Linked DNA regions of Homo sapiens: regions 2 and 3 are each linked to region 1. The links are contacts of gene promoters, found by promoter capture Hi-C in human tissues and cell types (Jung and others, 2019). All regions are on one chromosome and are shown on one strand. The core of a region is centred on a gene start or on the middle of the fragment in contact, and the rest is flanking DNA. Distances in the headings are between cores, read along the strand shown. Region 1 holds the start of MED27 (mediator complex subunit 27). Region 2 overlaps MED27 (mediator complex subunit 27). Region 3 holds the start of NTNG2 (netrin G2).

Region 1 (3,406 bases), core at 519-3,018:
TATAGGTCAGTCAGTTATTTTGTCACGTTTTTCAGTTTGAGTTCTATTGATGTCCTGATTAGATTCAGGTTATGCACTGCTGGCAAGAATATCATGGAGGTCATGTTGTGCTCTTTCCAGTGCATTGTATCAGGAGGTGCACAACATGTCCCGTCACTGGTGATGTTGACCTTGGCCTTTTGGTTAAGCTGGTGTCTGCCATGTTTCTCCACTGTGAAGTCACTATTAAGTCACTATCCATCCCCCCTTATGTTTACATTAATGAATTGTTTAAAATTTTTTGGTAAAATATACATAATATAAAATCAACCATTTTCACTGTTTCTAAGTGTCCAGTTCTGTGGCATTAAGTACAATCACATTGTTGTATGGCCATCACCACCATCCAGCTGTAAAACTTTTCCAAGTCTGTACTCTTTAAGTACAGACTTAAATATGGCCCTTTGCAATATTATGCTGAAATCTTCCTCTCTACAGCCTTCCTACAACTGGTTATTGTTATTGCCACTAGTTAACCAAGGAGGACTCTTGTCTTGGGTTGACATGAAGGTGAGTTGAAGGTCACAATCATGATCTGCCTCCTGCTCTCCTCTTCTCTGCTCCAAGCTATGCAACCCCAGCTCCTCTAAGGAAAGAACATGAGGACTTGGGCAGGTTCCCTTTAGTAAAAAGATAATAAATTTTCAGAAACCTGTCTATAGCCAACAGGACAAAGAGACATTGAATTTTTCCATAAAGCCAGATTTGGCCAACATTTTGTTGGTTTTATTTAAATCCCAAACCTTCTCTTTCTTCCACAACCTCTATGCTATGTATGTTATTTTCAGAGGTGTGTGTTCACTGTAAACCAGCCACCATTCTACTTTCTGTCTCTAACATTTTGACTACCCTAAACACCTCATATAAGTGGAGTCACACAGAATTTTGTTTTTTTGTGACTGGCTTATTTCACTTAGCATAATGTCTTCAAGTTTCCTCCAGGTAGCATATGTCAGAATTTTCTTGCTTAAGCCTGAAGAATTTTTCATTGTATGCCAGTATCACACTTTGTTTATTCATCAGTTTATGGACACTTGGGTTTCCCCTGCCTTTTGGCTATTTGGTGAATAATGCTGTTATGAACATGTGTACAGGTATTGAGTCCCTGCTTTCGCTTCTTTTGGGTATATGCCCAGAAGTGGAATCTCTGGATCATTATTTTCCTCTTCTTAATTAATAAGCATCTTGGGGGACGATACTTTGAGATTACCTAAAAAGCCTGTTATTTTTCTGACACTTTCACCCACTAGTTTTAGCATCCATCGATTTCTATCTGAATCAATTATTCTAATGGCTGTCAAATGGCAATTTTCTAATTCCATCACTCTTTCTGCATTTATGAGCTGGCATTCTATTGGAAAGAAGAAACTTTCCTTCTCCCCGCTTTATTTATGAATATGGACTCATTTTATTGAATGGGCTATGTTCCTTTCCTTTTTACACTATTGCTCTGAGCAATTCTTTTCCCTATGATTCCCCAGAGTGCAAGTTTGGGGAAATGCGGGAACTTTCTGTATTTCTTTGTCACCATTAAGCAAACCGGGAGTGCAACCTGACTTCCCCAAGTTGAGAAAAATCACTTTCCTGCCCATGCATTAGTTTAGCTCAAGGGGAAACCCTTTTTCGAAAGTGCTTTCTGGGTAGCCCCGCGCGAACTGCATTTCCCAGAGGTCTTCGGAGATACGTCATCAGCGAGCGCGGCTTTTTTGCTTGCGAAGCCGGCTTTGGAGAGCTGCTGTGGCGGCGGCAACATGGCGGACGTGATAAATGTCAGTGTGAACCTGGAGGCCTTTTCCCAGGCCATTAGTGCCATCCAGGCGCTGCGCTCCAGCGTGAGCAGGGTGTTCGACTGCCTGAAGGATGGGATGCGGAACAAGGAGACGCTGGAGGGCCGGGAGAAGGCCTTTATTGCGCACTTCCAGGACAACTTACATTCGGTCAACCGGGACCTCAAGTAGGTACCGGCTGAAGGGGCCGGGGTCGGGGACCGGCCCCGCTCCGACCCTGCCCCTACGTCGCTCGAGTCTTCCCAGGCAGGGGCTGTTCTCCGTTTCCCTTGATCCCTGTTCTTTCTCTTCTTGTTCTCCAAGCCTCTGCCTGTCCCTCAGGGACATCTTAACACCATCCCCGCTTTCTCGTCTTGCTTCTCCTGGCCTCCTGGTCCTGTTTGTCTTCCGCCATCCTCGACCTCTTCTGTGGCGGTTCCATTCCTAACAAGGAGGCATGCTTTTCCCATGAACTTCCACTTCTCTGAGCTTGGCAGGTTTCTCACCTGTAGGCCCTCTGTGCCCCATCACGTCTGATCCGAATGTAGTAATAGTACAGACAGGACCTGGTCAGTCGGCTCCAAACCCAAGTGCACCCGATCTGATTAGCCCCAATTCCCCGGCCCTGAACTTGGACTTCATCAGTTCCACCACCACCCACCCGCAACCACGACGGACCGGCCAGGCCTTGAGCTGTCTTCACCTTTTCCCCTAACCGCTCCCAAACCACCTGATCAGTTTCCTCACTCCCACTCCTGTGGGAGTTCCTTCCGCAGTAGAGACCTACTCTCTAATCTCTTAACCAGTTTAATTACTTATGCTTAACGCCCCTGCTTCTTAATTTGTAGTCTTTTAGGGTTAAGGATTCCACTTTTCCTCCTCTTCCTTACAAAGTACCTTCTTCACTTACACTTTTTAAGTGTTGTAAGAATTAAATGAGAGGATGTTTGTAAAGGGCCTGGCACATAGTAGGCACTTCTTGATTGCTTAGGTCCTGAACTTGCCTTCTGTTTTATAAGAGAGTCAGTCCTTCCCAGGAAGGTTAGAATTTCAGGATTTTTGCCTTTTACTTCTCAGAACTGACCTGAGTAGGGGAAAGCATTTGGTGAGCTAGTCATCCTTTGATTTCTGGACTGGTTGGATTTTTGTTTTTTCAACTTGGTCTCCTTAGTAACCAGATGGAAAGAGGAGGTAGGATGGAGGAGGAGGAGGAGGAGGTGGCCAAATGATGGGTGCCTTTTTGTTTTCCCCCTAAGTAGTTGCCGTAAATCACACAGCCCTCCTCAACGCCCACATCCGCTTGCTGTTCTCTGGCACCGCGCCGAGCACCAGTTAATACTTTCTCTGCTTCAGGGGATGCACTGGCTATTCTTCCCTATCTTCTGTTTTCTTTCCATTTTCTCTCCGAGTTACTTCCCTTTGTAATGTTCAGGATATTATAACCCTTCACCATTTTAAATAGAAACTTTAAGAGTGCTGACATTATCCTTTTGCCTTCTTAAATCTTTGTACAGTAGTGCCAAGAAGAAGGTGGCTGATGATTCCAAAATGAATGTGGCATAAGAAGCTGTTCCTAGAGAGTCTTTTGTTGGCAGTTTGGG
Region 2 (3,406 bases), core at 670-3,169, 95 kb after region 1:
CTGCCTGTTACGTGCCAAACCCTGTTTGAGACACTGGGGATGTAACGATTCATTAGCTTACATTCTGATGAGAAATGGTGAAGTGAGTGGTCTGTTTAAATAAACAGCCAAGGCCAAGTAATTGTCAGGAATAATATTTCAGAAGGTAAATACAGTCATGCATCATTAGGCTCTTCCATCATTGTGCAAACATATATTTACAAAAACCTAAATGGTAGAACCCACGGCACACCTAGGCTATAAGGTGTAGCCTGTTACTCCTAGGCTACAAACCTCTACAGCATGGTACCATAGTGAGTACTAAAGGCAGTGTAAGACAATGGTAAGTATTTATGTATCTAAACATACCTAAGCATAGTAAATGTATAGTAAAAATACTGTATGAAAGGTAAAAAAAAATGGAGCTGTGTGCAGTGGCTCATGCCTGTAATCCCAGTACTTGGGAGGCTGAGGTGGGAAGATTACCTGAGGCCAGGAATTCAAAACCAGCCTGGGCGACATAGCAAGACCCTGCCTCTATAACAAACAAACCAAAAAGAAAGATAAAAAATGGTACACCCGGACAGGAACTTCACCATGCATGGAGCTTGCAGGACTACAGGTTGCTCTGGGTGAGTCAGTGAGCCATGGTGAGTGAATGTGAAGGTGTAGGGCATTACTATACACTGCTGTAGACTTTACAGACACTGTACACTCAAGCTACACTAAATCTGTAAGAACATTTTTTCTTCCGTAATAAATTAGCCTTACTTTTTCACTTTATAAACTTTTACATTTTGTTAACTTTTTGATTCTTTTGTTATGACGTTTACCTTAAAACAAATACATTGTACAACTGTACAAAAGGATTTTCTTTATATTCTTATTCTGTAAAGCTTTTTTCTATTTTTTATTTTTGTTTTATTTTATTTATTTTTTTCTTACTTTTTAAACTTTTTTGCTAAAACCAAAGACACAAATGCACACATTAGCCTAGGCCTACACAGGGTCAGGATCATCTGTATCAGAGTCTTCCACCTTCACATTTTGTCCCAGTGGAAGGTCTTCAAAGGCAGTAACACACAGAGCTGTCATCTCCTATGATAACAATGCCTTCTTCTGGATCCCTCCTGAAGGACCTGCCTGAGGATGTTTTACAGTCAACTGTTTTTAATAAGTAGAAGTAGTATATGCTAAAAAAAAAAAACAATTAAAATTATAGTACAGTAAATTCATAAACCAGTAACAGTCATTTATTATCATTATCAAGCACTCTGTACTATACATAATTGTATAGGCTGTGCTTCTATGTGACAGGCAGTGCAGTAGGTTTGTTGACACCAGCTTAAACACAAACACATGAGTAATGTGTTGTGCTGTGACTTTACCATGGCTACTATGTGATAGGAATTTTCCAGCTTCATTATAATCTTATGGGACCACTGTCATATATGCGGTCTCACCAAAACACTGTTATGCGACACTTGACTGTGTTATAAAACATGGGAATGCAAAAATATTCACAAAGCACATAGAATGAGGAGATTGGGATGACAAATTTTCTCATCTTATTTGGGAGCAGGAGATATATCTAAACATTAAGAAATAGAGGTTTTAGTGTATTATGTAAAATTTGAAAGAAAATTCTTAAAAAGCACTAAAAAGAAAGGGGATGCCAGAGTCTTGAAGAAAACAGTAAAGACTTAGAGTCCGCAAAGCAAAAGGCAAAGAACCAAAGCAAGCATCCAGAGCAGGACACATGAAATAAGACATAAAAGAAGATAAAACAAAACAGTCTCATAAGACCACCAAATTAGGCCACACACCTGCAATATCAATAAATACCAATGAGATAAATATCTACTACAGGAAAAAGACTCAGATTGTCCCCAAAATTAAACCCTGCTATGTACAACATAAAACAGCTGTTAGACAAAGACAGATCCTGTATTTCTAACTAAAAGAAAACTGGACTTGTAATAGAAATACTAGATAAGGTTGAGCTCAAGGCATATGGTATAAATGGCTGCAAAGAGAAGCTTTATAAGGACAGAATGTAAGTCCACAGTGAGGCCATAACAGGTCAGTCCCAGGCTCAAAATACCAGCATAAATGTATAAATGTCAGGAAGCGCCAGGAGAAACAGGGACTGTGACTCACCTCAGGAGTTCACAGCAGACCAGCAAGATGGAAAATCAGAGAAGCATGTGGAAGATTTAAATACTTTCTCCTTATTGTAGTTTTTAGCTGAAATGACACCTCCTCAGAGGGACCTTCCCTGACTACCCAATCTAAAGTAGCTTCCCCAGTCACTTTGTATCATACACCTTTTTAAGATCTCTGTAGCGCTCTGTTCCGCTGTTCTCTTATGGGTGTATTATGTTGTGTTTTGTTTTGTTATTTGGCCCAAATCCCTGTGAAGGAGGGACCCTGTTTGTTCTGGTGACTGCTGTAACCCCAGTGCCTAGAACAGTGCCTGGCAAACAAGTCGATCTTGAGTTCATAGTCATCTGAGTGCCTGCTAAATGGCAGGCACTGTTCTAGGAGCCCTGAGCACTTGAGTGAACAGACTCCTGCCCTTGTGGTGCTTACATTCTAGTGGAGAATATGGAAGACAAACAATCAGAAGTCATGTACAGAATGTGAGGAGGTGATTAGTGCTATCGGGGAAAGTGGGGCGGATGTGAAGAGCCAGGAGAGCTGGGCCTGTGGGAGGTGGGCAGCGACTTTAAAAAGAACGGTCAGGGAAACTGCCTTGAAATGGTGACATCTGAGCAAATGTGGGGAGGGAGTTAGCTGTGTAGGTCTCTAGGGTAGGTGTCCCAGACAGAGCAACACAGAGGATGGGGAACAGTGACATAAGGGGGTAAAGACAAGTTGAGGCCGTGAACACCAAGGCTTGGACTTACTCTTGAGACGAGAGGTCAGAAAGTGGCTCTGATCAAATACAGCTGGATCAGTTGGAGCTGCATGAGGAATTTCACCTGATATGTGACCTGGAGCCAAGCTACTATCATGGCTGGTTTTGCCTTGTTGTGTAATGTAAACAATAGTTCTTGTTTTGTAAATTGTTTTGAGGGGTATAGTATGTGCTAATTTCAATTATTAAGATATCCATTTAGAACATTTATTAGCACAGATGAATTCGGTTATTTCAAATATAGAAGCAAAATATTGTGTAGAATGAAAATATGAGATATAATTAGACTATTAGTGAAAACACCTACCTCTGCATGATTGAAAATGAAAGGTTGTCTCAAAAGTATAGTGCTAAATATTTACATATCTGCCTGAAATGCACATTTTTAGATGCTAAAAATATTCATTGTTAATGATTGGATGGGAAGACTAGGTTTAATATAGTAATACGCTTCCATACATTTGTCTCTCACCAAAGTCAAAGCCAATTTTGTAAAGTATTACAGGA
Region 3 (3,406 bases), core at 514-3,013, 82 kb before region 1:
TTATCAGGATTTCTGAACTCAGATTTCTCTGTCTTATTGAATTAGCGCCTCCCGAGCTGGCTGGGCTCGCCAGCAGGTTCCTCTTGGAGTTGCCTGCTGCGCCCTCGCCGTGTGGGAAACTTGCCGCGGCGGGCGCGGGGCCCCTGGGGGCACGGGAGGGAGGGCGCTGGGGGCTCCCGGGGCTAGGGGGGATACTCAGCCCACCCCGGGGTTCCCTCTCCCTCCTCGGCAGGGGCGGCAGAGGGGGGTGAAATCTGCTTTCAGGGGAGAGTGGCGGTTGCCGGGAGGGAAAGGGAGCTTGGCCGGCGGGGTCACCTTCCCGTCCTCTGCCCCGGGCGGGGTCCAGCGGGCGCCCCGCGCTCACTGTAGCCTCGGCGGGCCTCTTAATTCCGGCGGCCCGGGTGTCCCCCCGCTCCGGAGCGGGCCCTTTATCCGGCCCCTGGGTCCCCGCCCGCGGGAGCCCTGGAAAGTTGGGCGCGGGAGGCGGGGCGCGAGCAGCAGCTCCCGGGTGGGTCCCGGCGGGCCGCGGGCGGGGTCGAGGCCGGGGCCAGGGTCGAGTCAGTGCTTCGGGCCGGCTGCGAGCCCTGTGCCTAGGACACCGACGACCCGGCAGCCCCGCAGCTGCTTTTCGTCTTCCCAAAGTTGCGTGCAAGCCACGGCAGCAATTAATAATTAAGCCCGTAATAAAGGCCCGGCCGGGACTGAGGCGCCCCCTTTTTCGGCACTGCCTCTCTTAATTAAAAGACACAGAGCAGGGCGCCCAGGAACTGGCTGTATCCTTTGCCCCGGCGCTGCCGCCTGTGGCGACCCGGCCGCCGCCGCCCCCAGCCCAGACGGCCAACTTACTCCGGAGCGGGCGGACCCCGCGAGCCCGCGGTCCTCTCTTCCCGCCTTCCCGCCGCCTCTGCTCCCCCCACCTGCGCGCCGCTCAGTTCCAGGTTCGACTCCACGCCGGCCCCAAACCAGTGCCTGCGCCCCCTCACCTCCCGACCCCCTCCCGGCGCCGGGAGAAGTTTCCAGCCGGACTGGCCGGGAGTTTCTCTGTGCAACTCACAGGCTCCCAGTTTGCAGAGAGATGGGAGGGCACGGGATGGGGGTGGCTCTAAGCGGTGGCGGTGGAATTGGGGTGGGGGAGAGGCGCGGGAGCAGGGTTAGTTTCCTTTTCCGAGACACATCCGAGCATCCTTGCAACATCCCTCCCCGACACACACACACACACACACACACACACACACACACACACACACACACTCTGTCTCTCTCTCACACACACACACACACACACTCTCACACACACGACGGAAAGGACCCGGGGGAAGCTGGCCAGAAAGACAAGCTACCCCTTTAAGATGCTGCTAAGAACGCACCCTCACACACCCCTCTGGGGCGACTCCAGTTCTCAGCTCGTAGCAGCCGCCACCAAACAACTTTTGCATCCGAGCCTTTGCCGGGCCGCTGTAAGTGGCTCCCGGGCCCGGGCAAGCCTGCATGGTCACCGAAGCCCTTTAAAAATGAAACCGGCCTGGCCAAGCTGCAGCCTCTCCCCCCGCCCGCCTCCCGGGCTCTCCCCGCCCGCCTTACCCCGGCTCGGAGCGGCTTCCCGGCGCGGAGACCTGGGAGGGCCGAGGACCGCCACCCTCCGGCGCTGCGCCTCCCCCCTCGGGCTGGCGCTGGGTGGGGGCGCGGGCCGAGGGCTGCGAGCCGCTGCTCCTTCCCCGCGCCGCTCCCGCCGCTGTGGCCGCCGCCGCCGCCGCCGTCAGATCGGGGCCAGGGAGCCCTCCGGCCGCCGGGGGGGCCGCCCGCAGCCGTCCCGGAGACGCGGGCCGGGGGAGGGGGCCGCCCGCGCCGCCCGCATCGCCCGCCCGGGCTGAGCGGGAGGTCGCCGCTAACAAGTGCAAACTTTTTGGCCCCCCTGGGCGGCCCGGGGAGGACCCGCGCTCGGGCGCCGGGCAGCCCCCGGCCCGGGTGGGCTTCGCGGCGTCTCGTCGGGGAGCCGGGGCATCCCCCCGGCGCGGCGCGGGCCAGATGGCGGGCGCTTCACTGCCCCCCTGCACTCCGCTCCAAGTTAATGCCGAGGCTAAATCCTCTTGCCATCACTCACGATCACCATCGGGGCTTTTATCTCTCGGTCTGATCCGGGCTGCGTAACTTCCTCTGTGTGGCTTTAACACACCATCCCACCACGGAGCAACGGTCTTCTTAAAGGTGCAGGAAGGAAATATTGCGCGGCTCGGGGGACGCGCCACGGCCCGGGGAGGGGCGCGGCGAGCAGGGGCGTCCCGGCGGGCCCGTGGCCAGGGTGGCCCCGGCAGCCTCTGGGGGGTCGCTGCCTAAACATCGCCTCCCGGCCCGGGGGCCAGCGGGTCCCTGCGCCCAGAGCGCATCCTCAGCCGGCTCCGGTCAGGCGCAGCCGGGCTGCAGCTTCCTCTTCCAAAACCCGGGGGCCTGCCGGGGTGCCAGCGCCCATGGGTGTGGGGGCTGCCCCATCGGCACGAGGGAGGGGGGCCAAGTGAGTCAGTTCCCCCACCCCCCACAGCCAAGGGCTCAGGGCTGCTCCTCGGTCTCTCTCTGTGAAGTGCTGCCACCCAGAAGGCCCCAAGCAGTGGGTACCGGGGTGGGTGGGTGGATTTGGGGAGATGGGGAGGGGGAGCGATCTGAGCGCACAACCAGAGCCTGAATACCAGCTGACACATCGCCGCCTCCACCCTGATGGGCCCTGCTTTTGACGAAGCCAAGCCAGCTCTGCAGGGAGTGCAGAGTAGTGGGGCAGGAGGGGCCTGGCTGAGGGGTTCTCTGTCTCCCTCCCCTGCAAGCATGGGAGGCAGGTGTGGGAGGGCTCCGGTAGCAGCAGCCCCGGGCAGAGGCCACCGAGTTCACAATATCATATCCGGCAGCCCTGGGCTCTCTGATCCCCAGGAGGTTTCCTGCCAGCCTGCCTCCCAGGGCTTCTGGGAGAGTTTCCACATCTTCCAGAAGCACATGTGGTTTTCGGACACTCCTGGCCTCCTGGGGTGGGCTCACTGCAGCCTTGAGCAGCCAGCACTGTCATTTGGATGCATCAAGAACAAAGGGCCTGAGGACAGACAGAGAGAGAGGCAGAGAGAGAGAGACCAGCCCAAGGTCACAGAGGGTGTTGGGAATGGAGCAAGACATGGCACCTCAGTGCCCCGCCCTGCTGCCACCCTTCACCTCCACCTTAACCCTTCCCTGTTCTCAGCTGCCCTGAAAACTGGAGACGGAGTTATACTGCTGAATAATATTTGGAATCTTGTGACAAAACAGGAAGAGGATGCAGAATTAAAGACTGTCATCTGCTGTAATAATAATAATAATATATTTATTGAACACCTGTTTTATGCCAGACTCCATGCAAACCAGTTTGTGTGCATTATTCACTGAATCTTCG

What was found. The method cuts DNA at HindIII sites, captures the fragments that hold promoters and counts their contacts. A contact is called where the count stands out against the background at its distance.
Region 2: a fragment that was not itself captured here is called in contact with the fragment with the promoter of MED27 in region 1 in 2 of the 25 tissues and cell types used here (adrenal gland and liver).
Region 3: the fragment with the promoter of NTNG2 here is called in contact with the fragment with the promoter of MED27 in region 1 in 1 of the 25 tissues and cell types used here (dorsolateral prefrontal cortex).

Annotation. Positions count from the first base shown.
Region 1 is chr9:132,078,229-132,081,634 of GRCh38, reverse strand. It overlaps MED27 (mediator complex subunit 27), which reads left to right and starts at 1,768. Exons shown (of 8, transcript NM_004269.4): 1 at 1,768-1,993. The coding sequence starts at 1,791. RefSeq lists an enhancer at 1,592-1,871. The HindIII fragment of the contact is 14,332 bases long and covers 1-3,406 here.
Region 2 is chr9:131,983,478-131,986,883 of GRCh38, reverse strand. The region is part of intron 3 of MED27 (mediator complex subunit 27); the gene reads left to right. Among named protein-coding and RNA genes, the nearest start is that of MED27, 95 kb to the left of the region's middle. The HindIII fragment of the contact is 4,884 bases long and covers 1-3,406 here.
Region 3 is chr9:132,160,415-132,163,820 of GRCh38, reverse strand. NTNG2 (netrin G2) reads right to left here and starts at 1,763. Exons shown (of 8, transcript NM_032536.4): 1 at 1,582-1,763. LOC124902291 (a long non-coding RNA gene) reads left to right here and starts at 2,121. Exons shown (of 2, transcript XR_007061826.1): 1 at 2,121-2,205; 2 at 3,218-3,363. The HindIII fragment of the contact is 9,283 bases long and covers 1-3,406 here.